Regions from separate parts of the Homo sapiens genome. Here regions 1, 2, 3, 5, 6 and 7 are each linked to region 4. Evidence: promoter capture Hi-C in 16 types of primary human blood cells and fetal thymus (Javierre and others, 2016). All regions are on one chromosome and are shown on one strand. The core of a region is centred on a gene start or on the middle of the fragment in contact, and the rest is flanking DNA. Distances in the headings are between cores, read along the strand shown.

Region 1 (3,527 bases), core at 554-3,053, 3.2 Mb before region 4:
CAGCTTCACCCTAACGTGGGTCTCAAATTCTTTCTCCCTGGGCCATAGGAACATCTCTAACCCAGGGCATTCTCCTCCTAACTGAAGATTAAATGCAGTCTCTCTCACCCATTCATATGCATTTCACTCCACATGGCCCATAATTATTCTCTGGAAATACAGACCTCACACCTATTCATCCTCCTACTTTAAACCTCTCATCAACTGCCACGGCCCAGGGAACAAAATAGAAACTCCTTCATTTAACATTGAAAATGCATCACAAATCCCAATTAACTCTCTAGTCTCATTTTCTTCAATATTGCTCCAAGTATGCTGTCAAGGGTATTTTCTGATGTAAAGTAGATCTTTGGGGACCTGTCTTGTTTTCTTTAACTTATTTAATTTACTCTCTCATATCTTGATAATTATATACTTTGCTTAAAATAACAAAGAATTTCTTCTAAAACATTCTGCAATTTAAACCCATTCTCTAAGACTACTTTGTACCATTGTTATCCGGAATTAGTGGTCCTTTCACGAGAAGAAATAATTACCTTCTATAGAAGCAGAAGTAAAATGTACATTGCCAAAAGCACACTGTGGGCCAGGAAAGGAGTTCCTTAAGGGCAGGATCCTAAAATAGTCTTCTGGGAGTTTCTAAAATCTCTTTCCTTGGAGGCCTCCAAGACCAGTGGCAAAGCTAAATGAGGTGGAGATTGGCGGGCGGCGGGGGTGGGGGGGCTTGTGAACAGCCTTGCTAGGAAAAGGGAAAGGAACTTTAGGTCTCAGCTGGCAATCAGGAAACTTCAGCGTCTCAGGCGTCTTTCTGCACTAACCATAGGTGAAAATATCTGCTGGCACCAGATTCTAACAGTATCTCATAGATCGGAATTTCACAAACCTGCCACAATTGACATTTGGGGCTGGATACTTCTATTATGGGCAGTGTCTTATATATTGTAGGATGCTTTTTGCAGCATCTCTTGTCCTCATCTATTAGAAATAAATAGGCCAGTCACAGTGGCTCATGCTTGTAATCCCAGCACTTTGGGAGGCTGAGGTGGGAGGATCGTTTGAGCCTAGGAGCCCAACCAGCCTGGGCAACATAGCAAGACCCCATTCTCTACAAAAAATAAGAAAAAAGAATTTGCCGGGCATGATGGCACATTGCCTGTAGTCCCAGCTACTCAGAAGGCTGAGGCGGCAGGGGGTGGGGACATGGAAGGTCGAGGCTGCAAAGAGCTGTGATAGTGCCACTGCATTCTGGCCTGAGCAACAGAGCGAGACTGTCTCAAAAAAAAAAAAAAAAAAAAAAAAAGGAAATAGCACCTCTTCATTTGTGAAAACCAAAATGTGTCCTGACATTGACATGTGTCCCCTGGGGGCAAAATCGCCCACAGCTGTTAATCACTGCTATAAATTCACTTCCTCAAAGATCACCATCACTTCTGAACTGTCTTTCTTCTTCTAAATAAAAACAAAATATCCTTGACCACACAAAGTGAAAACCATACCAACAAAGACAAGCATTTTTCTGTAAAGATACCAAAAGAATAGCTTCTGACAAGGGTCCACATATTTATTGTTACCATTGCAAATAACAAAACAGAAAGTGACAGGTAGATAGACAGAACATATTTGCTTCTTGCTCAACTTAATAGGAAGCCACCTGCAATCTCATCTCTCTCCCGTCTCTCAGTAGCATCTGGGATCTCACTGACATACCAGTATCTGACCCTGGGAAAGTCATCTGCTGAGCCACTGCCCAGGGGTGGAGCTGGGACACTTCAGGTGCTACTTCAACACAAACTGATGACATGGGTACACATACAAGGAAAGAGCACAGGTACAACTAAATTTCAAGGTCCATTAGCAGCACAAAGAGGGGGAAATTGCACTTCCAAATGCAAGCCCTGGAACTCAGCAGGGACATTTTTCATTTTCAACTTTCAAATGGTAAGAATAATAATAATGGTTGCTGTTTTTAAGAACAGCTTCCAAATTCAAATACATTGCACTTCAACCCCAAATACTAGAAAGTGTTGCATATCGCTCCCCACTTTGGAAAAAATGCAGGGTTGCTGTAAGTTCAACTTGGATTAAATACCAGGAAACTGTCGCTTGAGTTATACCTGTACCTTTGATTTTGTGGTTCTGCTTCCCAAGTGACCTTGCAATTATTAAGTCATCACAACACCACTTGGATGCTATCATTATGGTTTTGGCTTTTAAGGAACAGTCAGCACTGGCCAGTTATTCAGCTGACCTTGAATGACAACTCTTTATTGAGAGTATAAATAAATGTGTACACATGCACATACATACACTACCCCGTAGAGAGCTACACAATGTTCTTGTCCTCTAAAGTATCACAATCTAGGATTGTAACTATCACATCTAGGATTGTAACTATCACATCCTATGAAGCCTCCACATCCCATAACCATTGATGGGAAGTTCAGTCCTGACCAACAAAAAAGGCAGTCCCACTTCTTAGGCGGTGTCTGCTAAGGTCTGAGAACTAGGGAAACGAAATACCAAGTCCGACTTCTAGGCAAATCACCACAAATGTAAATTGAGAAGAAGAACTATAAGAAGAAACTCTTCCAGGTGGTGAAACCAAATGCTGTTCCCTCCAATAGAAACCAATCCATGTGAGCAATATTTACTGAATTATCTTCAACAGGTAAGGCTACAATCAAGACACTATGGGCAGAACAAAGATATATCAGACATTCAGTCCTTAGAAGGCAAGCATTTTCATGATCAGATATGTATACTTTTTACCTTTTCCCCATTTCAGGTACATGACAAAGAACCACAGATCCAATCCTATTCGCTCCACTTCCTCACTTAAGATCACAAAACTAGAGAAAGACAGAATGGGTCTTTCTAAAATTCAAAGCATCATTCTAAAAGGAGAGAATTTTGACGAAGGCCCTTCAAGCCCTTTCAGAAAGTGAATATGGAGAAATTAATTTACTGTGTGATTGGTGGAAGGGTGGGGATTTTAAAAATCTGCTTTTTCATTCCTTTGAGTCCCCTTTCTCTTCAACAAGACAAACAGAGCTCAAAAATCCAGTTCAATCTGATTTCTTGATTTTAATAAAGCTCATTTCCACCTAAATTTCCCTAGGGGCAAATTTACTTTCACATTAAAAAACCCTCGGTGATAAATTTGTGAAGATAAGCCATACTGGATAAAAGCTACACAGAACACAGCTAGAGAGAAAAAATAAGGAGACACACAGACACACACACACACACACACACAGAGCTATCCCCCTAAAGAAAATAAATTTAGGGAATCCTTCTTCAATTGCTATGGTACCCAATTTAGAGACAGTTTATAGCCAACCAGAAGATATATTAGCAAGCAATAAGACACAACAATAAGCAATCAGAAACATCAGTGAGCAATAAGACACCAGAGTCAGCTGTAAAGACACACCAGGGAGAACATTTCTGAGCAATTACCGCATGTCTCCATTCAGGAAGGGAGAGAGAAAAACTTTACTTGGCGAGGATTGGAACCCCATAAAACT
Region 2 (3,342 bases), core at 308-2,807, 3.3 Mb after region 4:
TGAGACAGGAGGATGGCTTGAGCCAGAGAGGTGGAGGCTGCAGTGAGCCGACATCCTGCTGCTGTACTCCAGCCTAGGCGACAAGAGAACCCTGTCTCAAAAAAAAAAAAAAAAAAAAAAAAAAAAAGAAAAAACTTCACAGGTGATGATACGTGATTTATGTTGTGAGGATATACTTCTAGCTATGAGCCTTCAATAAGGTGGTAGGGACTGCCAGATGTTAGCTTGCGTTATTTACAATGCCAAATTTACCTGGTTAATGTGTCCATTGGATTTCTTCATCAAAGAGGTATATTTTTCCCTTTGCAGTTATACTTGATCTGTGGGGTGATAACTTTAGCATCATGTGAGTACCTCACTTCTCAAAATATTTTTCACTTAATGATTGATGATTATTAGCTGAGTCATTTATTGGGGGTTTTCTAATTTTGTTATTTGTTTATATTCATTAACTGTTTTCTGTAATAAAGAGCTTTTGCTTTCCCCCTTTCGTGTTTAAATGTTTAAATTTTGAAATAAATATGAACTAACAGAAGAGTTGGAAGAATAGTTCAAAGAACTCCTATGTACTTTTTATTCTGATTCACCCATTTTTAACATTTTGTCACATTTGCTTTATTCCTCCCTTCCTGCCTCCCAGCCCCTCATGTATTATTTTCGGAGCCATTTAGTGTTATTCACAGATATGCACTTCTCCGCACTTCTCTGCTCAAGAACAAGTTAAGTACCCGCAATATTAACTAATTCTGGACATTGAACATTTATATAGTATTGAAAATTCATACTCAAATTTCTCTAGTTGTCTCAGTAACATCTCACAGAATTTTTCTTTCTCTAATCCAGTATCCAATCTAGATATTTCTTTTCTTTTTTTATTTATTTTTTGAGACAGAGTCTCGCTCTGTCTCCCAGGCTGGGATGATCTTGGCTCACTGCAAGCTCCGCCTCCCGGGTTCACGCCATTCTCCTGCCTCAACCTCCCGAGTAGCTGGGACTACAGGCGCCCGCCACCATGCCTGGCTAATTTTTTGTATTTTTAGTAGAGACAGGGTTTCACCGTGTTAGCCAGGATGGTCTCGATCTCCTGACCTTGTGATCCACCCTCCTCGGCCTCCCAAAGTGCTGGGATTACGGGTGTGAGCCACCGCACCCGGTCCCAATCTAGATATTTCGTATCTCTTTAGTCTTTAAGCAGGAGCAGGTATTTGGCCCTTATTGCTTTTGGTCTTTTTTTTTTTTTTTTTTTTTGAGACTGGGTCTCACTTCGTTGCCCAGGCTAGAGTGCAGTGGCAAGATCATAGCTGCCTGCAGCCTGGAACTCCTGGGCTCAAGTGATTCTCCTACCTCAGTCTCCCAAGCACCTGGCACTAACCCCAGTTAATTTGAGGGCTCCTTTGCTTTTTTGGCAAAACAATAACCCAAGTCCTTCTTGTCTTTTCCTTTCCTTTTGTATCTTCCCATTTCTCCAAGGAGTCCCAGTTCTTTTGGTAGAAAATATTATTTATAAACCAGGATTTGGATGCTTGGTGGTGTATGCATTTGCTTGTATGCCCTTTTCAGTGGACAGAGCTAGAAAACATGATATTAAAAATCATCAGCTTACATTGGTATTTTATTTTATTTATTTTTTGAGACAGTCTCCCTCTGTCACCTAGGCTGGAGTGCAGTTGTGCAATCTTGGCTCATTGCAACCTCTGCCTCCTGGGTTGAAGCGATTCTTGTGCCTCAGCCTCCCGAGCAGCTAGGATTACAGGCGTCTGGCTAATTTTTGTATTTTTAGTAGAGATGGGGTTTTACCATATTGGCCAGGCTGGTCTCGAACCCCTGGCCTTAAGTGATCCGCTCACTTTGGCCTCTCAAAGTGTTGGGATTACAGACGTGAGCCACTGTGCCTGGCCTACATTGGTATTTTAAATTCCTAATCAAAGTTAACATTAGTGGCATTTTCTACACAGAAAACAGAGTCAGATTTATAATGCCAGTATTTTACTAACAATAACCCTACCAAGTGCAGTTTTTTTTCCAGTCCTTTTTTTTCTTAGCGTATACTGCATTAAAGATGAACTTTCTTCAAAAGTTACTTGAAATAACATTTTTCAGCTTGTTTGTTGAATTTGTTTATTTTGATTATCAAATTTCACAGTTTTTGTTTGTATTCATTATTAGGGTTTGCTTTTTCTCCCTCTTAATTTAGTTTTTTTGTTTGTTTGTTTTTGAGACAAGATCTCAATCTGTTACCTAGGCTGGAGTGTAGTGGTGCAGTTTTGGCTCCCTGTAGCCTCAACCTCGCAGGTTTGGGTGATCCTCCCACCTCAGCCTCCCAAGTAGCTGGAACGACAAGTGCGCACCACCATGCCTGGCTAATTTTTTGTGTTTTTTGGTATAGTCTGGGTTTTGCCATGTTGCCCAGTCTGGGCTCGAACTCCTGGGGTCATCGGTTCCTCCCTCCTCAGCCTCCCAAAATACTAGGATTACAAGGCATGAGCCACTGCACCCAGACGTAATTTAGTTTTTTTAATACGTTATTTACATGGTTTAAAATCTACTGAAAAAAAATTTTTAAGCACCTGTGACCAAGAAGGAATAAAATTAAATACTATATTGAAAAAGTACTGGCTGGGCGTGGTGGCTCACATCTGTAATCCCAGCACTTTGGGAGGCCGAGGGGGGCAGATCACCTGGGGTCAGGAGTTTGAGACCAGCCTGGCCAACATGGTGAAACCCCATCTCTACTAAAAATACAAAAATTAGCCAGGCGTGGTGGCACATGCCTGTAATCCCAGCTACTCTGAAGGATGAGGCAGGAGAATTGCTTGCACCCAGGAGACGGAGGCTGAAGAAAAAGTAGTTAAGTCTTGCTTCTGTCTCTGAGCTCTGGAGTTCATTCCAGTTTTTACTGTGTATATTCTTATTTTCACATTCTTAGAAGAAAGTTGGCATGCTGTATATGCTTGTGACACTTGATTTTTTTTTTTATAAATTGTGATAAATGCATAGCAAAATTTTACTGTCTTAATTTTTTTTTTTTGAGTCGGAGTCTTGCTCTCTCCTCCAGGCTGGAGTGCAGTGGCGTGATCTCAGCTCACTCCTGGGTTCAAGTGATTCTCCTGCCTCAGCCTCCTGAGTAGCTGGGACTACAGGTGCATGCCACCACACCTGGCTAATTTTTGTATTTTTAGTAGAGACGGGGTTTTACCATGTTGGCCAGGGTGGTCTGGAATTCCTGACCTCAAGTGATCTGCCTGCCTCAGCCTCCCAAAGTGCTGGGATTACAAGCAGGAGCCACTGTGCCTGGCCTTAACCATTTTTTTTGAGATGGAGTCTCACTGTATCACCCAGGCA
Region 3 (3,382 bases), core at 371-2,870, 3.2 Mb after region 4:
TGATGGAGTGTTTCACCAGTCAGGTGGCTGATACCACCTGGAAGAGAATGTCTGAGTTGTTGCCTCTATCTCACGACATTTAGCTTTTCCTTCAGGTGTGGTTTGGTGTAATGAGAATGATGAAAGGTTTTTTTAGCTTTTGCATTTTATTCTTTCCCTTCGATTCTTTGAATTCTGAGGCTCTAGAGGTGCAGAGCCTCAGAGCCCTATTAAAACACCAGCTCTCTGGGAATGCGGTCCTGCTGCTTCATCTGACCTGTATCTCTAGCTCGCTGCCCACAGTTGCACACAAAGTAGAGTCAAGTGAGAACTCAGGCTGGTGACACCCATCGTGGATTCAAATGACCCTGGATGAGGGGATAATTTTCCAGGTGATGGCTGAGATGTTGACTTTGGGCTTGGTTTTTCATATTGTTTTCCTGGCTCCATTTTTGTTGGCAAGATTCTATAAGCTGTTAGATTAGTTCTTAACATACCCTAGAAATTAAATTTTTATTTATTTATTTATTTATTTTGAGACAGGGTCTTACTCTGTCACCCAGGCTGGAGTGCAGTGGTACAAACATGGCTCACTGCAGCCTCAACCTCCTGGGCTCAAGGGGATCCTCTTGCTTCAGCCTCCTGTGTAGCTGGGACCATAGGTGCGTGCCACCATGCCCAGCTAATTTATTTTATGTAGAGACAGATGTCTCACTTTGTTGCCCAGGCTGGTCTCCAACTCCTGGGCTCAAGCCATCCTCCCACCTCGATCGACCTCCCAAAGTGTTGGGATTATAGGTGTGAGTCACCACTCCCAGCCCAGAATTTATTTATTTATTTTTTAATCCTGCCCTAAAGAAAGACTGAATCCAGTGGATATTATTGGCAGAACTCATTCTTTCTTGTAGTTCCAGGCCATACAGCCTGATACATAGATTGTGATCTAAATCCTAGTTCTGGCCCAGGTGCGGTGGCTCATGCCTGTAATCCCAGCATTTTGGGAGGCTGAGGTGGGCAGATCACCTGAAGTCAGGAGTTCAAGACCAGCCTGGCCAACATGGTGAAACACCATCTCTACTAAAAATACAAAAATTAGCCAGACATGATGGCACGTGCTGGTAGTCCCAGCCACTCAGGAGGCCAAGTAAGGAGAATTGCTTGAACCTGGGAGGCAGAGGTTGCAGTGAGCCAAGAGCATGCCACTGCACTGCAGCCTGGGTGACAGAGTGAGACTTTGTCTCAAAAAAAAAAAAAAAAATTCTAGCGCTGCCACTTAGTGGCAGTGTGGATGCTGTAAAATGTAAAATGATGGTAGCATCATCTGCCTTGTTGAGTGCTTTAGAGGATTCAGTGAAGCCCTTTTTGAAGAGTGTGTGCTCTGTGCAAGCTCTGCTGTAAGCCCAGAGTGCACAGCCAAGTACTGGCCCCCCAGGAGTTGCCCTCCTAGAGAACAGTGGAACAAGAACCCAGATGATAAGAGCAGCTAAAAGTATTGATGCTTAACACATACTAGTCACTGTTTTAAGCCCTTTATGTACATATATATATATATATATATGTATATATATATATATTTGGAGACAGAGTTTCGCTCTTATTGCCCAGGCTGGAGTGCAGTGGTGCGATCTCAGCTTACTGCAACTTCCACCTCCAGAGTTCAAGTGATTCTCCTGTCTCAGCCTCCCGGGTAGCTAGGATTACAGGCATGCACCACCATGCCCAGCTAATTTTGTATTTTTAGTAGAGATGAGGTTTCTCCATGTTGGTCAGGCTGGTCTCAAGCTCCTGACCTCAGGTGATCCGCCCACCTCGGCCTCCCAAAGTACTGGGTTCATAGGCGTGAGCCAGGGCGCCTGGCCTCTTTACATATGTTAAACTCATTTAATTCACCTAACCCTAGGAAGCAAATACTATTATTATTCCTGTTTTGAGTAAACTGAGGCAGAAAGAGGTTAATCGTGGAGGAACCAGGATTTGAGCCCAGGCCACCTGGCTTTGGAGGCAGCATTTTAAAAAACCAAGGCACTCTGCTTCCCCTCTCAACAGTCCAAATAAGACAGTGACATCCATGGTCAGAAACAGTGTAGTCATTGGAGGTTTTATTATATTGAGTATGTAAGACTTTCTCAAAAAGAAGCCAGGTGTGGCTCACACCTATAATGACAGCTACTGGGGAGGCTGTAGTGAGAGGATCCCCACCGCACACCGCACCGCCCCCCTACCACCTTTTTTTTTTTTTTTTTTTGAGACAGGGCCTTGCTCTGTTGCCCAGGCTGGAGTGCAGTGGCATGGTCATAGCTCACTGCAGCCTCAACCCCCTGGGCTCAGGCAATCCTCGCTCCTTAGCCTCCCAAGTAGCTGGGACCACAGACATGTGCCACCATGCTCAGCTAATTTTTTTTATTTTTTGTAGAGACTGGGTCTCCCTGTGTTGCCTATACTGGTCTCAAACTCCTCGGCTCAAGGAATCCTCCTGCCTCGGCCTCCCAACATGCTGGGATTACAGATATGAGCCACTGTGTCCAGCCAGCGGGTGGGGGGGCGGGGCGGGGAGCGGATCCCTCCCTTGTGGCCAGGAATTTGAGACCAGCCTGGACAACATAGTGAGACCCCCATATCTCCAAAAAAAAAAAGATAGCTGGGCATAGTGGTGTGTACCTGCAGTCCTAGCACTTTGGGAAGCTGAGGCGGGAGGATCACTTGAGTCCAGGAGTTGGAGGCTGTGGTAAGCTATGATTGTGCCACTGCACTCCAGGGTGGGTGACAGAATGAGACCTGTCTCTTAAAGAAAAAGAGAGAGAGAGAGAGAAGAGGAGAGGGGAGGAGAGGGAAAGAGAGAAGCCCCTATTTCAAGCAAGGCATGAGAATGTACAAGCTATTATTCTTCGGCCACAGAGAGCTTTGATCTCAATCGGAAATGCCCTTGATGTGTATTTTGTTATGGATCAGCATATATGAAGAACATAAATAATCCTTGTAAAATGTTTATATCATTCAACGTAAAGTGACAAGTTGTTTAGAAATAATGGCATTGCAGATGGGTGTGTAAATATTTAATTTGAAATTTAAAAGGTTGAAGAATTTACACCTGAAATACTATTTGTAGATCAATGCCTAAAAAGATAATTATATGACATGTCCAAATCACAGGGGAAAATTTAGGTAGGACAGCGCAAATCTCTCTTCTCTCTCTCCCTCCCCCCACTTGCCCTTCTTTCTCTCTCTTTCCAGCCAAAACAATAACATACAATGACTTGAGAGAAAACTTAGTTTTCTGTACTTAGAAACTTCAGTATTGTCAACATTGAAATAACTAGGCTCTATTTTCCTGATTCTGTTGAGGAGTGACACTTTTCAGACAACAGAGAGGACCTTAGTTGTGTTATGGCTATACATTTTTACC
Region 4 (3,491 bases), core at 317-2,816:
GCTTTTGGAATATTAAAGAGATTAGCTTTGTCTATTACATGTGTTGGGACTATTTCTTCCTTGTTAATCATTTATCTTTTGACTTTGCTTATGGTGCTTTTTGCCGACCAAAGCTTTTCATAGTCATGACTTCTGGATTTCAAGTAATAATGTAGAAAAGCCTTCTTTACTCCAATACTAAAAAGGAATTTCCCCATGTTTTCTTCTTGTCCTTTTATCACATTTATATTTTATTTTTATTTTTTTTTTTGAGACGGAGTCTTCCTCTGTCGCCCAGGCTGGAGTGCAGTGGCCCGATCTCGGCTCACTGCAACCTCCGCCTCCCGGGTTCAAGAGATTCTCCTGCCTCAGCCTCCAGAGCAGCTAAGGTTACAGATGTGCGCCACCACGCGCAGCTAATTTTTGTATTTTTAGTAGAGACGCGGTTTCACTATGTTGGCCAGGCTGGTCTTGAACTCCTGACCTCGTGATCTGCCCGCCTCGGCCTCCTATAAGTGCCGGGATTAAAGGCGTGAGACACCGCGCCCATCTGTTTTTATTTCATAAACGACTGAAAAAAGACCAGAGCCAGGCCTCCTCCCTTCCATCACTAATCTTTATTGCAATAACTCCCTCCTTTGTCGTCCTGTACCTAGCTCAGACCAGACGACACCCCAAACACAAACACCAAGACACGCACCTCTTTAATACGAAATAATAAACATACCTCCCCCAGAGAGACACCCTGAACTAACCAAATCATTGTAACTATACACTAAGCCTTACATAAAAATACTAACATTTGGCCGGGTGCGGTGGCTCACACTTGTAATCCCAGCACTTTGGGAGGCCAACGTGGGTGGATCACCTGAGGTCACGGGTTCGAGACTAGCCTGACCAACATGGTGAAACCCCCGTCTCTACTAACACAAAAATTAGCCAGGTGTGGTGGCGGGCGCCTGGAATCTCAATTACTCAGGAGGCTGAGGCAGGAGAATCGCTTGAACCCGGGAAGCGGAGGTTGCAGTGAGCCAAGATCGCGCCATTGTACTCCAGCCTGGGTGACAAGAGCGAAACTCCGTCTCAAAAAAAAACCAAAAAACCCCCTAACATTCTAGTACACTTCCCTGAACTCTTGTCTATAGAAATGATCCCGCACTTCTACACTTGAAACGCTGACTTGCATTCTCTAAAATCTGCACTCCTGAGCGGGCGCCCGCAGCCTCCGCACTGGCAAAGAATCTGTGAGCTGAGCTCCGCCCCGCTCCGACCCCGTAGTGGCGGTCACCCGGGGTGTGCTCGACTCCCGGGTGCGGCCTGAGGATCCGCGCCCTGGCGTCTGGGCACACACAAAGGTTTCTGCGGCGCGGGACTATCTCAAAATATAAATTAAATACTTTTTTCACAGACAGTTAATAAAAAAACTACAGCTACACCCGGCCCTTTCGCCAACTGGGACCGGCCCACTCCGCGCTCGCGCTCGCGCTCGTCCATCCGGGCGTCTCGAGGGCGCCGGCGGGAGCGAGCACGCTGCGCAGTCACGTGCCCGGCGCGCCCCCGTCGCGGCGCGCTCAGGCGGAAGTGAGGTCGGCGGCTCCGGTGGCTGCGCAGCGTCGGCGGGGAGCGCGGGCTGCGGAGAGGCGGGCCGGGCCAAGCGGAGCCGAGCGAGCGGGAGCGCGGCGTCCGGGAGGCGGCGGAGACGCGGGGCTCGGAGGGTCAGCCTCTTATCGTAGCAGGTCTCCTCGGCACGCCCCCCTTGTTTCGCCCCACGGCCAAGCCCGCCGCGGGCCGGCGTGCGCTGGTCACTGAGGCCCAGGTCGCCGCCGCGGCGCGGTGAGTGGGGGCGGGCAGCGGGCGACTGCGCGTCCAGGCCGGAAGTGCGGCGCTTTGTGCGGCCGGCTCGGGGCGGCGCCAAGGTCGGCCCGCGGCTCGGGGTCGCTGGGCGTCTGGACCGGCCTGGGCTGCGCTTTGTGCCGCGGGCAAGGCCGGGCGGGGGCCGGGGGCGGAGCTCGGCCGGACACGTACGCGTGCAGGTGCGGTCCGGGCGGCGCGGGCCTGCCGCCTAGGTGGCCGAGGTGGCTTCGCGGCGCGGGGCGTTCTCCTAAAGGTCGGGGTCACAGCCGTCAGGAATGCGAGCGTGAAACCCGGGGGCAGAGCTTTGTGACAATAGTCATTTCCAATGTGTAACTGCTCACTTTGTCTACCCACGAAGTAAAGATAATTTTTATTTTTATTTTTTTGCTTGGCGGAATCTGAGCGTTCTCCTTCCAGCTTGAAAAGGCACGATTTAAATTACAGATTTTTAAGATTTCCTTCAGAAAGGACGTTTCGTGGCCTAGCCTGGGTTAACTTTGAAAAAAGAGTGCAGTGCGCCTTTACGACGTCCACAAATAAGGGTATTTCTGTTTTATAGTGTATGTGAACATGAAGTGTGCATCTCATGGGCTGTTTGAGTTAATGTTTAATCATTAAAGTCAAACAAGAATATTTTGCAGTGTTTTCGCATGCAAGGAAGCTTTATAAATAAAAAGGTTTATATAGTTTCCACTCCTTAAACTTTCAGGTCATCCTTGTGTAATTTGAGATCACTTTTCTCAAATACTATGGATGAAAGATTCTAGATTAAATAAAACTTTTTGGTTTTGGCAAAAACAGGACACATTTTTAAGCTCTTGTAGATGAAGGAGTGGGTTATTTTTGCTTTGACAGCCAAGATTTGAGCAGTGTAAGGCTATTCTAATTTTGAAGCTAGTGTTGCAGAAATTGTGAAGATCTTGCTTCTCTTTGTCTTTACAAAGCAGGCTTACTTTGGTGGAGTTCCGTAGTTTAAAGGGAAATTATACCCAAGTTGTCTTAGACAGTTTCTTTTCCTGGATCAATTGAGCACTTTTTTTTTTTTTTTTGAGACGGAGTCTCCCTCTGTTTCCCAGACTGGAGTGCAGTGGCGCCATCTCGGCTCACTGCAAGCTCCGCCTCCCGGATTCACGTCAGTCTTTTGCCTCAGCCTCCCAAGTAGCTGGGACTGCAGGCGCCCGCCACCACGCCTGGCTAATTTTTTTGTATTTGTTTTTTTTTTTTTTTAGTAGAGACGAGGTTTCACCGTGTTAGCCAGGATGGTCCCAATCTCCTGACCTCGTGATCCGCCCGCCTCGACCTTCCAAAGTGCTGGGATTACAGACGTGAGCCACCGCGCCTGGCCGAGCACAATTTTAAAAGAACAGTACACCAGCGTAATAGAGTAATAGTTTTTTCATGCCTTGTGTCCAGTCTGTTAAGTCTGTCTGATTGTACTGTGCAGAAATACATGAATTCCTCCCAGTAAAATGCAAACCCAAACCTTGGTAATGAAGGTAAAGTTTGGGGGAGAGAACTTCTTTTCTTTTTTCTTTTTTTTTTTTGTGAGACGGAGTGTCGCTCTGTCGCCCAGGCTGGAGTGCAATGGCGTGATCTCGGCTCACTGCAACCTCCGCCTCCCGGGCTCAAGGGATTCTCCTGTCTCAGCCTCCCGAGTA
Region 5 (3,370 bases), core at 687-3,186, 3.3 Mb before region 4:
CAAATAGTGAAAACTAGAGAACACACTTCACTCCTGGATAACAAAAAACAGTCATCAGACTACAGATGACCTTGGAAGGAAATAAAATCTTAAAACAAACCAGGTCTTTGGCCAATAAGCTAAAGAAATTGTCAAATCATTTTATTTGTGGCATCATACAAATGCCTTGGACGTAGATAGGATCAAATGCATTTACAGATGGAGAAACTGAGGCAAAGAGGAGATATACATTCTTTTGGCTAGTGGGTGTCCACTAAGAGTTCTTAAGTTTGAGTGTTTATGACGATAGTACATCAAGGGGCTAGCAGAGCTTTAATGTGCAATTAAAAAAATCATGAGTTAGGGCCACCTCCAGGACTTGACCCCAGTTTACTGTGGGCAAGCCAAACTCTGTAGCCTATTTCCTCATGTTCAAAATAAAGTTAACAATAATACCTGCTCTATCTACCTCTTAATGCTGTTGTGAGAATCAAAGAGGATAGCATATGTGAATACACTTTTTATAAATGAAGTATCACATAATGATTGGACAACTGAGATTATGCCCTAGAAGTCCACCTGCTCAACCTCTCTCCCCTACCTTGAACATGAAAACAAAGCGAGCCAGAGATGAGAGCTGAGAAATCCACTACTGAAAATAAGCTTCCTTGTGCTTAGGACATACCACAAGAGAGATCCATGTGCCTTCTTCACACTTGCATCCCTTGTACAACGCCTAGCACATTGCAGCTACTCAATAAATATTTGTGAAATTCATAAAAACTTATTAATAAACCTGAGGGAGTTTATCTAATACACTGAAATGCCAGCCAACCCTTCAAGGCCAAACTCTGGTTTCTTCACAAGTTCCCGAACTTCATTTGGTACTTCCATGGCACCATTACAGAAAAAACACAGACCACTGGGTGGACTTCCCTACAGTGTCAAAGCAACACGTCATCATGCTACTGCTGAGCAAAATGATCCTCAAGGGCTTGCCCGGCTACCTCCACCACATGGTGTGAACTCTGCCTCCATCTGTGCCAATCAGACCCTCACATTCCCTCATCCAATTTTACCTCCACTATTTTTCAACACTTAGACTAGCTGGGTTGGCTTCTAGCTCTTTCCTGAATATGCCACCTCCACCTCCACCACCTGACTCTAACTCCTGTCTGGCCCACATGCCAGGTGTGTCTACACTCCATCCATCTTTCATCTCTTGCATCTCTCCTGATGCTTGCTCTGCTTCCTGAGCCCACAGGGACTTTGCCCTCATCTGAACTTCTTCACTGTCCAATGCGTACTTGGTGAACAAGGAGGTATGAGGAAAAGCTGGTTGGGAAACCCACTCCTTGAACAGTGATGATTGGGTTGGGGGAAGAGTTCAGCACCCCTGGCTTACTATGAAAGCTGCTGCTCTATTAGAAAGTCTGTCCTTCCAGGCAGGGCTTTACCTTTTCCATTTGCAGCCTTATCCTTAGCCCCTTGCTTGACACCTAACACTGAGTAGGTCCTTAGTAAATACGATTTTTGAATAAATCAATGAAAAAAACTGTAGCAATCTCATTCCACAATTCACTTACTTTTCAGCTGCCATTGGTCTAGCAAACTGCTGCCCCAAAATAGCCACAAGAGTTTATTGCAGCATTGAAAAACAAGCATGAAATATTCTGATCCCATTTTCACAGCCAATGGCAATAACCTGAACACCACATCCGTGGTGAATTTTTACCTTGGTTTCTCGAAGAAGGAACTGCAGGTCCCGTCCACTGAGGATACCATGGTTTTTCACGTAACTGGGAATATTCTTTGTGCTGGAGCCATAAACAGTTGCATGCACTTCCATGTATGTGTGAATAATGTCCAAGTAGATCTTCTTATTCTAAAGAAGAAAACAAGCACAAGACATTTCTCTTTTTCTTTCATTTGCATAACAACCTGTATCATGGACTAGAACTTCTAAGACTAGAGGCCACAGACAGAGAGTTCTTAATATGGAGATCACAGGAATTTGGCAATCAAACTGCTAAAATTTCTTTGAAAAGTAATCTGGCTGGACTTTGTGGACATAAACAGTCATATAGCCATTGTATAATTTTTTAAGAAGAAATACATTATATGGCAACATATTACTGAATACCAACTGTATAATTTTGCAAGAGGAAATACATTATATAGCCAACTGTTTTGAAATATCATCCTTGCTTTGTAAATTACCACAGACCTAACAGTTGATTTTGGCTCTTCCTACCTCTAGGAGAGGAAGTTTGGGGAAGGACAGCCCGGGGAAGGCAGTCAGTTGGACTGCAACATTTACCCAGAGATGCTAAGCTGTCCCAGAGGAATACAAACATTCCCCAGCTCTTGCCAATGTTTCTAGTGATGATTAACTCATGTTGTCAGAACTGGATCCCACCTAATTTGGGATCATGGGAAGATGAGAGTTTCTCACAGCTGGAGAGATAATGAGAATACTCAGGTAGATAAAAGTAGAAAAAAGAGAATAAATGTAAATTTTGATGAGCCCTGAAACATTCAAGAGTAATTTTACTTATACTATTAGAAGCACAACCAAACCCCTTTTCTTGTATTTGTAGGCACTGAATTTTGAGGCACGTTTTCTAAATCAAAACCACCTGTGAAGTGGAAGCAAGTTCACCTTTTTTACCTCTGTGTTTCCCTGTGACTAAACTGTACAAGCTGGGGTTTGTGGGTTTTTCTTTTCCTTTTTTTGGGAAATTTTCAAAAAGTCAAATTCTGTAATGTTTTCCAGTTGTATAAAAGTGGGACAAGGTTTCCTCATTCTAAGCCTGTTTTCAGACACTCCAGGCAAATCTAATAATAGCTGGTTTTGTGACTTAAGACCACAAGGGACACAGGGGTGTGGTATTAGCAGCCACAGAGTGCAGGGAAGCCCGGAGGCAGGCTCTAAATGAAGCGATTCATGATCTGGTCTCTGCCATTCACTGCCCTGGTGATATTACAAAGGACCCTCAACTTCAGGAGGAACATTTCAAGTGATGTATCAAAAGTCTTCATGACTGGGAAAACTGCACAGTCCACATTCTTCATTTCATGAACCAGGATGACTTTGCTTGCAATGAGCAAGACCACCCTTGCCACCCTAATGTATGAATAAAATGAACAGTGGGACTGAAAGTTTAATTCCATGCCATGTCTGGTATGGCCGCAAGATGCTGAATTCATTAACTTAGAAATGTATAGTTTTAAATTAGTACAGAAGCTTACACCTACCTGGCATATGTTAGTTTGAAGGGTTCTAGGATATGGTTCTTGTGCTAGATGTATCTGGTAACTCCTGCCCCCACCCACAGCTCCTGTTAAGTAGGCAGGGGGCTCTGTTACCCTGTGCCCACTGCTGGCTGCT
Region 6 (3,232 bases), core at 393-2,892, 3.2 Mb before region 4:
CTGAAACATCACACACTAGCTCTCATTAGATCATTTAATCTATTTGTACAATATACTCGTCCTATTGTATATTCTCTGTGCCTGTCTTGTCCGTCCCTAATTAATTTTGTCACAATGCTTGGTGGGGTATGAGGTATAGTCAACGACAAAAATGCTTTAGATCTTTTTCAATGAATATAATAGCAAAACAGTGTATGCTATATATATTCTAGCAGCTTTGAGACTGGAAGACAAAACTGAGTTTGTAATATAGTTTGGATAATTAGAGTGCTTTTTAATGCAAAACTCTGCATGTATTCATTTCTATGTAAATACCATTTTCTGTAAGTTTATATTTAATTTTTGCTATCATTTCTTCTGCAACAAAATGTTCCTTAGTATTTTAAGTAATGATGTAAAGGATATGAAATATTCCACGTGGGTATCATATATGTACTTAGTTACAACAAATGGGCCTAATAGGAAATAAACTAGGAGAATGCTAGTTTTATACATCAAAACAAACAAAAAGTTATACAGATATATTCCCAGAAAAAAAAGTTTCTATACATACATTTAAAAGAATAAGATATAATGCTAACATACTGAGACAACCTCAGCTGTCAATTTTGATTTAAGAAAATATACTGAGAAATAGGTGGGAGACATTAAAAATTCAAGATACTTGCAAAACTGTATTATATTCTCGAGTTGGGGGCCTAAGGTGATATTTATAACGATTCTCCTTTTCCAATAAACAAAATAGTGCCAAGCTTTTGCCAAGTCCCCTCTTCTCACATGCAGTTTACTAGAAGAAGGAAAGGGTGTTACACAGATAACTTACTGTAACAGTGACATGCCCTTGCAACACAGAGCACCCATATCTCACTTCAACCTCTCAAAGAGAGGTTTGATTTTTCTTCTAAAACAGGGTTCCATGTTAAGCACAGTTCATAGATTTCTGCCTGTTCTTATCAAACTGTCAAAGGTGTCTTGAGTTTGGATTTTGTTAAAAATGAAAAGCAAAGCCATACATGTAGTTTATGTGTGTATATTTGTATTTCCTTTTTGCAACTGAAGAAGAAAAGAAATATGGAATCAATAACTGAGAGAAGGCTAGCTATATCCTTGGGCTGTTTTAAGATAGTATAAATTGCCCAAAATAGGTGTGTGCTCTTCATATCACACAATGCCCACTTTCTGAATCACTTGTCACAAGCGTCTTATAGCTGTTGGTTAGAAACAGGGATTCTATCTGGCCAGCCAGACATCTAGAGGCAAGGCGGAAGTGCTTCGACTATTCTCTTAACAGGAGATCAAGAAAAATTTTTGTTTTCACCGTCTCGCATAAACTGAGGTTTTCATTTTGTTTTGGTTGCTTGGTTGTGGTCTCTTACCTTACTTTTTTAAACAGAAAAATAAATTGCAAGATAATGCAGAATTGAGATGACACCTTGATAATAAGGTTTTGGTCCTAGAGAAAGTAGGACAGAGAGAATGTATAAAAGAAGCTGAAAGCCAGAATATTTCAAACACCCACAAGCACAACAAATTCTTGGGTACGGTTTGAAGAAAGGCTAAAAGCTATTTAAATTGTAAGTCTACTGTGACTGATCCAGAGTGATATGAAACCTACAAGCCATTGGCATAAAATATACATGCCAAGCCTGCTAGGTAATGTCCTTGGCTAGGATGCCTCTTAAAAACCAGATTGTGCCAGGTGCAGTAGTGCATGCCTACAGTCCCACCTACTGAGAAGGCTGAGGCAGGAAGACTGCTTGTGCCCAGTAGGTTGAGACCAGCCTGGGCAACATAGCAAGACATGTTAAAAAACAAAAAATCAGGCTATCTTACAACTTAATTCCTTAGAACTTCTCCCGGCCCTTAGCAGGTATTCCTTCATGTAGAAAAGAACATGCTTTGTGTTAAGACCATGTAAATTTGGATACCAATACTCTGCTTGTAAAGTTAAGAGACTAATGTGCATATTCTGGGATGTTACAAGTATTCTTATAATCCTGGAATGCTATTCATCAACTCCACATAAAAGGCTAATGAATTTGTGAATGCAGGTTATTCCCAGTAGGAAACACAAAGGTTTTCAACTGCCTGGGAATTTGTTCGTTTCAGCAAGTAGTCTGTTCCCAGATGAATATTTGGTTTTTGAGTTAGCTCTTAGAAGGCACTGATCCTCAGGTGGTGGGATTACTACCTGAAAACCCATTCACCATCCCAGTATCCAGAATAAAGTGCAGTCCCTTGCTTACCCTCCAGCCATGGCATCCGGATAGGAGAGCAACTGTTAAATACATACGGTCCTTGCCAACCTAGAAATGGTGGTTATTGTATATTGTACCTAACAGAAAAGAGCTAGCATGCATACCAAAACCAGGGGGAAGGCAGCACTGTGGTAACAGATAATTCAGACAGCTTCCCAGCCCAGAGCACGCTGCTAAACTACACTACCTGTGTAAGATCCACATAACAGTTAACCTAGGATTCTTTAAAAACAAAGCAGAGAAACTATGCATTGGCAATAGCAGAGAAGCTTGTATTGGAACAATCTTCCCACAGATAACACTTACAATATGACACTAAAGAGTGAGGGAAAGTGAGCAGAAACTAGAAGGGATTTGATCCTTAAATTCTTTCTGGAAACTACACTGAATAAGACTCACATTTATATGGCTGTGCCCCAGAGGGGACTATCAAGTCTGGAAGGTAGCAAACAAAAGGCTACAGTCTCACTGGCTTGAGGTTTCATAGAATGAAGTTTTGCATAGTAGTGAAAAATTAAGGTAGCATATTCCCAAAAAGAGGGAGCCCAAAGAGGAGAACCCCAAAGTCTGTATATAAACTACCTTAAACTTCTTGAGCGACCCTAAAACTAAGCATTTGTGAGGGAGGCTCCAATAAAAGTTCAAAGTATTCACAAGACTTCAGCTGCTGCTCACTGCAGGGCAGCCACAGTTTAAACCCCAAAAAGTCAAAGGGTCAACATTTCAGGCTTTCCATGAAACCCCAGAAGGGCCTCACATCAGGCCCAGGACTTCAGATGGTCCAAGACTAGGGAAAAAAATGGAAACAGACACACCCTAACAAATCATAAAAGCAAGTCTTCTTAAGTTCAAGGCAGTAAGTCAGTAATTTAACTGCCTACTAGAAAAAAAATCAGTACTCTTCAGAGGAAGTTTACCGAACCCAGACACTCTATAGCATATCCTTGTCATGTCCAATACATAATAAAGAATTA
Region 7 (3,460 bases), core at 1-2,500, 3.3 Mb before region 4:
ATCTGTTTGCTAAAAACAAGGACCTATGATGTGTTTTATACACATTTCAGGTCACATTAGAAAGGAGGGAAAGTGGAATAAAATGAACCAACCTTCTGATTTAAAATTGCTTTCACTGCATCCTCTACTTCCTCCTGATTGTTGAGGTCAACAGTCCACACATGTGGCCGCCCGATGAAAACTTCAGCGTAAGGATGCTGGGATGTCAGCTGGAAAAGAACCGAACACCTCAGTCTCACAAGCAATTTTTAAAATAACCTGTGCTAGATGGAGTGCTATGCTTTTTATGGTACTGAGTTATAATCGTGTAGGTAACAAGACACTGTGTCCTTCCCCTTGATGATCAAAACCATCCATAAGCAGATAACAAAACAGTGATGGTTCTGTACCTTGAATCCCACTTGGAAATAAGATAATGTCACAACCAGGTGACAAGGAAGCTGCTACAGGAGGCTTTAGCCCCCAACATCACATCAAGAAATGATGAACAGTTTCTCCTACCCAGAACCCAGCCCCGAAAATCACCTATTACTAGATCAAACCAGTATCTATTCTCCTGGCTAAGACAGAAAGGTCAGCATAGACAATTACAAGAAAAATCAAGGCTTTTAAAGTCCCAGGAGGCTAAGTCATGGTGCATACAAAAGGTGATAGAAAAAAATGACACCATCAGAAATACACAGAATTTTTGGGATGGTTTCAGGAATAATAATTAGCATAATATTCAGAAAAACAAGGAATGGCAGTTTTTGTCCTAAAGGGGGTTTTATTTTAAAAACAACATGTGGTCAAAGAAACCAAGTGCAAACCATGACAATTCTGAATTCATGAAGTGTCCATTCTTCTTTTTTTTCCCCAAAGGGTCTTGCTCTGTTGCCCAGTCGTAGTTCACTGCAGCCTCAAACTCCTGGGCTCAAGAGATCACCTTGCCTCAGCATTCTGAGTAGTTGGGACTACAGATGTGCACATCATGCCTGGCTAATTAAAAACAATTTTTTTTTTTTTTTGTATACACACGGTCTCTGTATGTTGCCCAGGTGGGTCTCAAACTCCTGGCCTCAAATGATTCTCCTGTGTCCGCCTCCCAAACTGCCGGGATTACAGGCACAAGCCACTGTGCTCAGTTGAGTCCATTCTTTAATACAGCTAAATTTATCCCCTGATTTTGTTTCCACCTCTGTCCTCATATCCCTTTAAGGTCATGTTGTAAAGGGAGCATTCTAGCCACGTGTGAGAGCATTTTCAGCTACCATAATAACTGGAGAATGTTACCCTTAGTCTGTGGGTGGGAACCAGGGATATAAGCACTTCACAATGTCCAAGGACAGTCCTGCACAGGAAGAATTGTCCACTGCCCACGAAACTTTCAAATGGCCTGCAGGGCTTTCACGTGGGCTTAGAGAATCTAGTTTTTTATTTTTTTTTTTTGAAACAGAGTTTTGCTTTGTCACCCCAGCTGGAATGCAGTAGTATGATCCAGCTCACTGCAACCTCTGCCTCCTGGGTTCAAGCAATTCTCCTGCTTCAGCCTCCTGAGTAGCTGGAACTATAGGTGCGCACCACCATGCCTGGCTAAGTTTTTGTATTTTTAGTAGAGATGGGGTTTCATCATGTTGGCCAGGTTGGTCTCGAACTCCTGGCCTCAAGTGATCCACCTGTCTCAGCCCCCAAAGTGCTAGGATTACAGGCATGAACCACCATGCCCAGTCAGAATCTAACTTTTTGACAGTTCAAACATACATTGAATTATCCAGAGACATAATCACCATGTAAATGAAGCAATGTCTCTGCTCTGTTTTATCTGAAACGTCACCAATGAGCTGTCATCATTTCAGAAAGATCAAAGCAACAAAGTCAGTGCCACTGAGGATGTCAGAGTCTCCAGTAAAACATACCCACATTAGTCTATATTTGGAGCTATCACATTACTGGCAATTCTATTTATATGTGGGCATACGTAAACACACTCAGGCTTCGCTCCTCCTTCATAATGTCAATTTTAAGTAAAAAGGCTGACCATATTCAGCTGAATGTTTCATTCCTTTTAAATAAAAACACTCATTGTGAGGAGAAACAAGGCATCATAGTGCCTGGTATAGCTGTTGGGTATGGGACAGCACAGTTCTTGATTCCATAATACTGAAATATGTATTGCTTTATTAGAAATTCTTTTCCTTTTATTTCTCCTTTATATTTGTTAGAGAATTATTCCCTTTTGAAATTACACGGGTAGGCAAGGTTATATAATTTACAAATTTCATCTCATATTTATAACAATAGGAAATATTGGGTTTGCCAGTGCTGAGGCCTTTGCTTTGGAGGTCAAGCTGGCTCTTCTCTTCTCCTCAGGCCTTTGCTTTGGAGGTCAAGCTGGCTCTCCTCTTTTCCTCAGGATACTCACAGGGCTAGAGGAATTAACTGGCACCCCTCCGTCTTTCCCTTAGCCACTGTTCTTTGTATCCTGCCACACCAAGAGCATGCATGTGCTATTCAAGGCAGGAAGCCCGACAAGTCCCTGGGCCCAGCAGTGAGCCTCTGCTGACTGCAGGTTATCTGGGCCTCTATCCAGCAGCAGCCCGTCATCAGTCTCTTCAGTTTCCCGCCCTTCTGACAGGTGCTGTCTTCCTCGGCTCAGCTCTATGGTCAGTGATAAAAGCTACAGACTCTCTGCAGGCCCACGGAACTCAGAAAACTTCCATTTTTTTTTCTCTGCACACTTCTGAATTCAACACTTACCAAGGAAGCCCTACGCTTCCTGCTAATCACCTGCACAAACGTTATTTCTCAGGTTTATTATGCATCAATGACGATTCTGAGACTGAGAGGCGATTACATTTCCCCTAAGACCCCACAGCTGGAAAGGAGAAGAGCCAACTTCAAATCTAGGTCCTTCAACAACTTCTTAGCTTTGGATAAAAAGGAAGGTGACAATTTTAAAGGATGTCTTTAAGTTCTTAAGACAAAGGCCCAATGTAAACACCAGCTTTTTAATCCAGCTCTTACAACTTGCCAACCTAAATTCAGGACTGAATTTATGCCTGTATTTTCTGAAGATGAGCAAAATGTCACATCATTTTCATTTTGTGGCCTGGAGAACTGATTAGATTTTCTGACGGAATCAGGGTAAGTTAAAGTTGCCATCAATGTCACTATTTAGTAATTTACATGTCAGCAGTCTCCCTCCTCTCCTGCCTTTTAAGGTCTCTGCTTATTTACAAGGTTGCTCCAAGCACTTGGAAAATACAAAATGCTGAGCTATTATCCTTTTGTTCATTTACATTTACTGAAGGTTACTTAGCTTTATGAGTGAGGCATTTTGTGATTCATTAGTTCCCCTCTGAATGTTACGTTCCTTCTTGCTATTTATTGAGAACCATCTGATCTAAGATACTTCATTGTATATCAATCAATAAATTTACTGGAGTATAGTTTGTAAAAGTAATGAAAATCTTATTAAATA

The links. The method cuts DNA at HindIII sites, captures the fragments that hold promoters and counts their contacts. A CHiCAGO score of 5 or more calls a contact.
Region 1: a contact is called between a fragment that was not itself captured here and the fragment with the promoter of FAM168B in region 4, in 1 of 17 cell types (M1 macrophages). The highest score is 5.1, in M1 macrophages.
Region 2: a contact is called between a fragment that was not itself captured here and the fragment with the promoter of FAM168B in region 4, in 1 of 17 cell types (fetal thymus). The highest score is 8.9, in fetal thymus.
Region 3: a fragment that was not itself captured here is called in contact with the fragment with the promoter of FAM168B in region 4 in 1 of 17 cell types (neutrophils); the score reaches 5.2 in neutrophils.
Region 5: a contact is called between a fragment that was not itself captured here and the fragment with the promoter of FAM168B in region 4, in 1 of 17 cell types (M1 macrophages). The highest score is 5.2, in M1 macrophages.
Region 6: a contact is called between a fragment that was not itself captured here and the fragment with the promoter of FAM168B in region 4, in 1 of 17 cell types (M0 macrophages). The highest score is 5.5, in M0 macrophages.
Region 7: a contact is called between a fragment that was not itself captured here and the fragment with the promoter of FAM168B in region 4, in 1 of 17 cell types (naive B cells). The highest score is 5.1, in naive B cells.

The regions. Positions count from the first base shown.
Region 1 is chr2:134,273,352-134,276,878 of GRCh38, reverse strand. The region is part of intron 2 of MGAT5 (alpha-1,6-mannosylglycoprotein 6-beta-N-acetylglucosaminyltransferase); the gene reads right to left. Among named protein-coding and RNA genes, the nearest start is that of MGAT5, 21 kb to the right of the region's middle. The HindIII fragment of the contact is 7,130 bases long and covers 1-3,527 here.
Region 2 is chr2:127,801,854-127,805,195 of GRCh38, reverse strand. All of the region lies in intron 1 of WDR33 (WD repeat domain 33), which reads left to right. Among named protein-coding and RNA genes, the nearest start is that of WDR33, 7.6 kb to the left of the region's middle. The HindIII fragment of the contact is 9,275 bases long and covers 1-3,342 here.
Region 3 is chr2:127,875,192-127,878,573 of GRCh38, reverse strand. The region is part of intron 2 of AMMECR1L (AMMECR1 like); the gene reads left to right. It also overlaps the pseudogene LOC107985803. Among named protein-coding and RNA genes, the nearest start is that of AMMECR1L, 9.1 kb to the left of the region's middle. The HindIII fragment of the contact is 3,899 bases long and covers 1-3,382 here.
Region 4 is chr2:131,091,535-131,095,025 of GRCh38, reverse strand. It overlaps FAM168B (family with sequence similarity 168 member B), which reads left to right and starts at 1,566. Exons shown (of 7, transcript NM_001009993.4): 1 at 1,566-1,812. RefSeq lists a silencer at 1,393-2,112. The HindIII fragment of the contact is 2,381 bases long and covers 116-2,496 here.
Region 5 is chr2:134,401,482-134,404,851 of GRCh38, reverse strand. It overlaps MGAT5 (alpha-1,6-mannosylglycoprotein 6-beta-N-acetylglucosaminyltransferase), which reads right to left. Exons shown (of 16, transcript NM_002410.5): 11 at 1,715-1,864. Among named protein-coding and RNA genes, the nearest start is that of MGAT5, 150 kb to the right of the region's middle. The HindIII fragment of the contact is 2,584 bases long and covers 645-3,228 here.
Region 6 is chr2:134,303,337-134,306,568 of GRCh38, reverse strand. The region is part of intron 2 of MGAT5 (alpha-1,6-mannosylglycoprotein 6-beta-N-acetylglucosaminyltransferase); the gene reads right to left. Among named protein-coding and RNA genes, the nearest start is that of MGAT5, 51 kb to the right of the region's middle. The HindIII fragment of the contact is 1,775 bases long and covers 755-2,529 here.
Region 7 is chr2:134,419,552-134,423,011 of GRCh38, reverse strand. MGAT5 (alpha-1,6-mannosylglycoprotein 6-beta-N-acetylglucosaminyltransferase) reads right to left here. Exons shown (of 16, transcript NM_002410.5): 13 at 93-209. Among named protein-coding and RNA genes, the nearest start is that of MGAT5, 170 kb to the right of the region's middle. The HindIII fragment of the contact is 5,580 bases long and covers 1-3,460 here.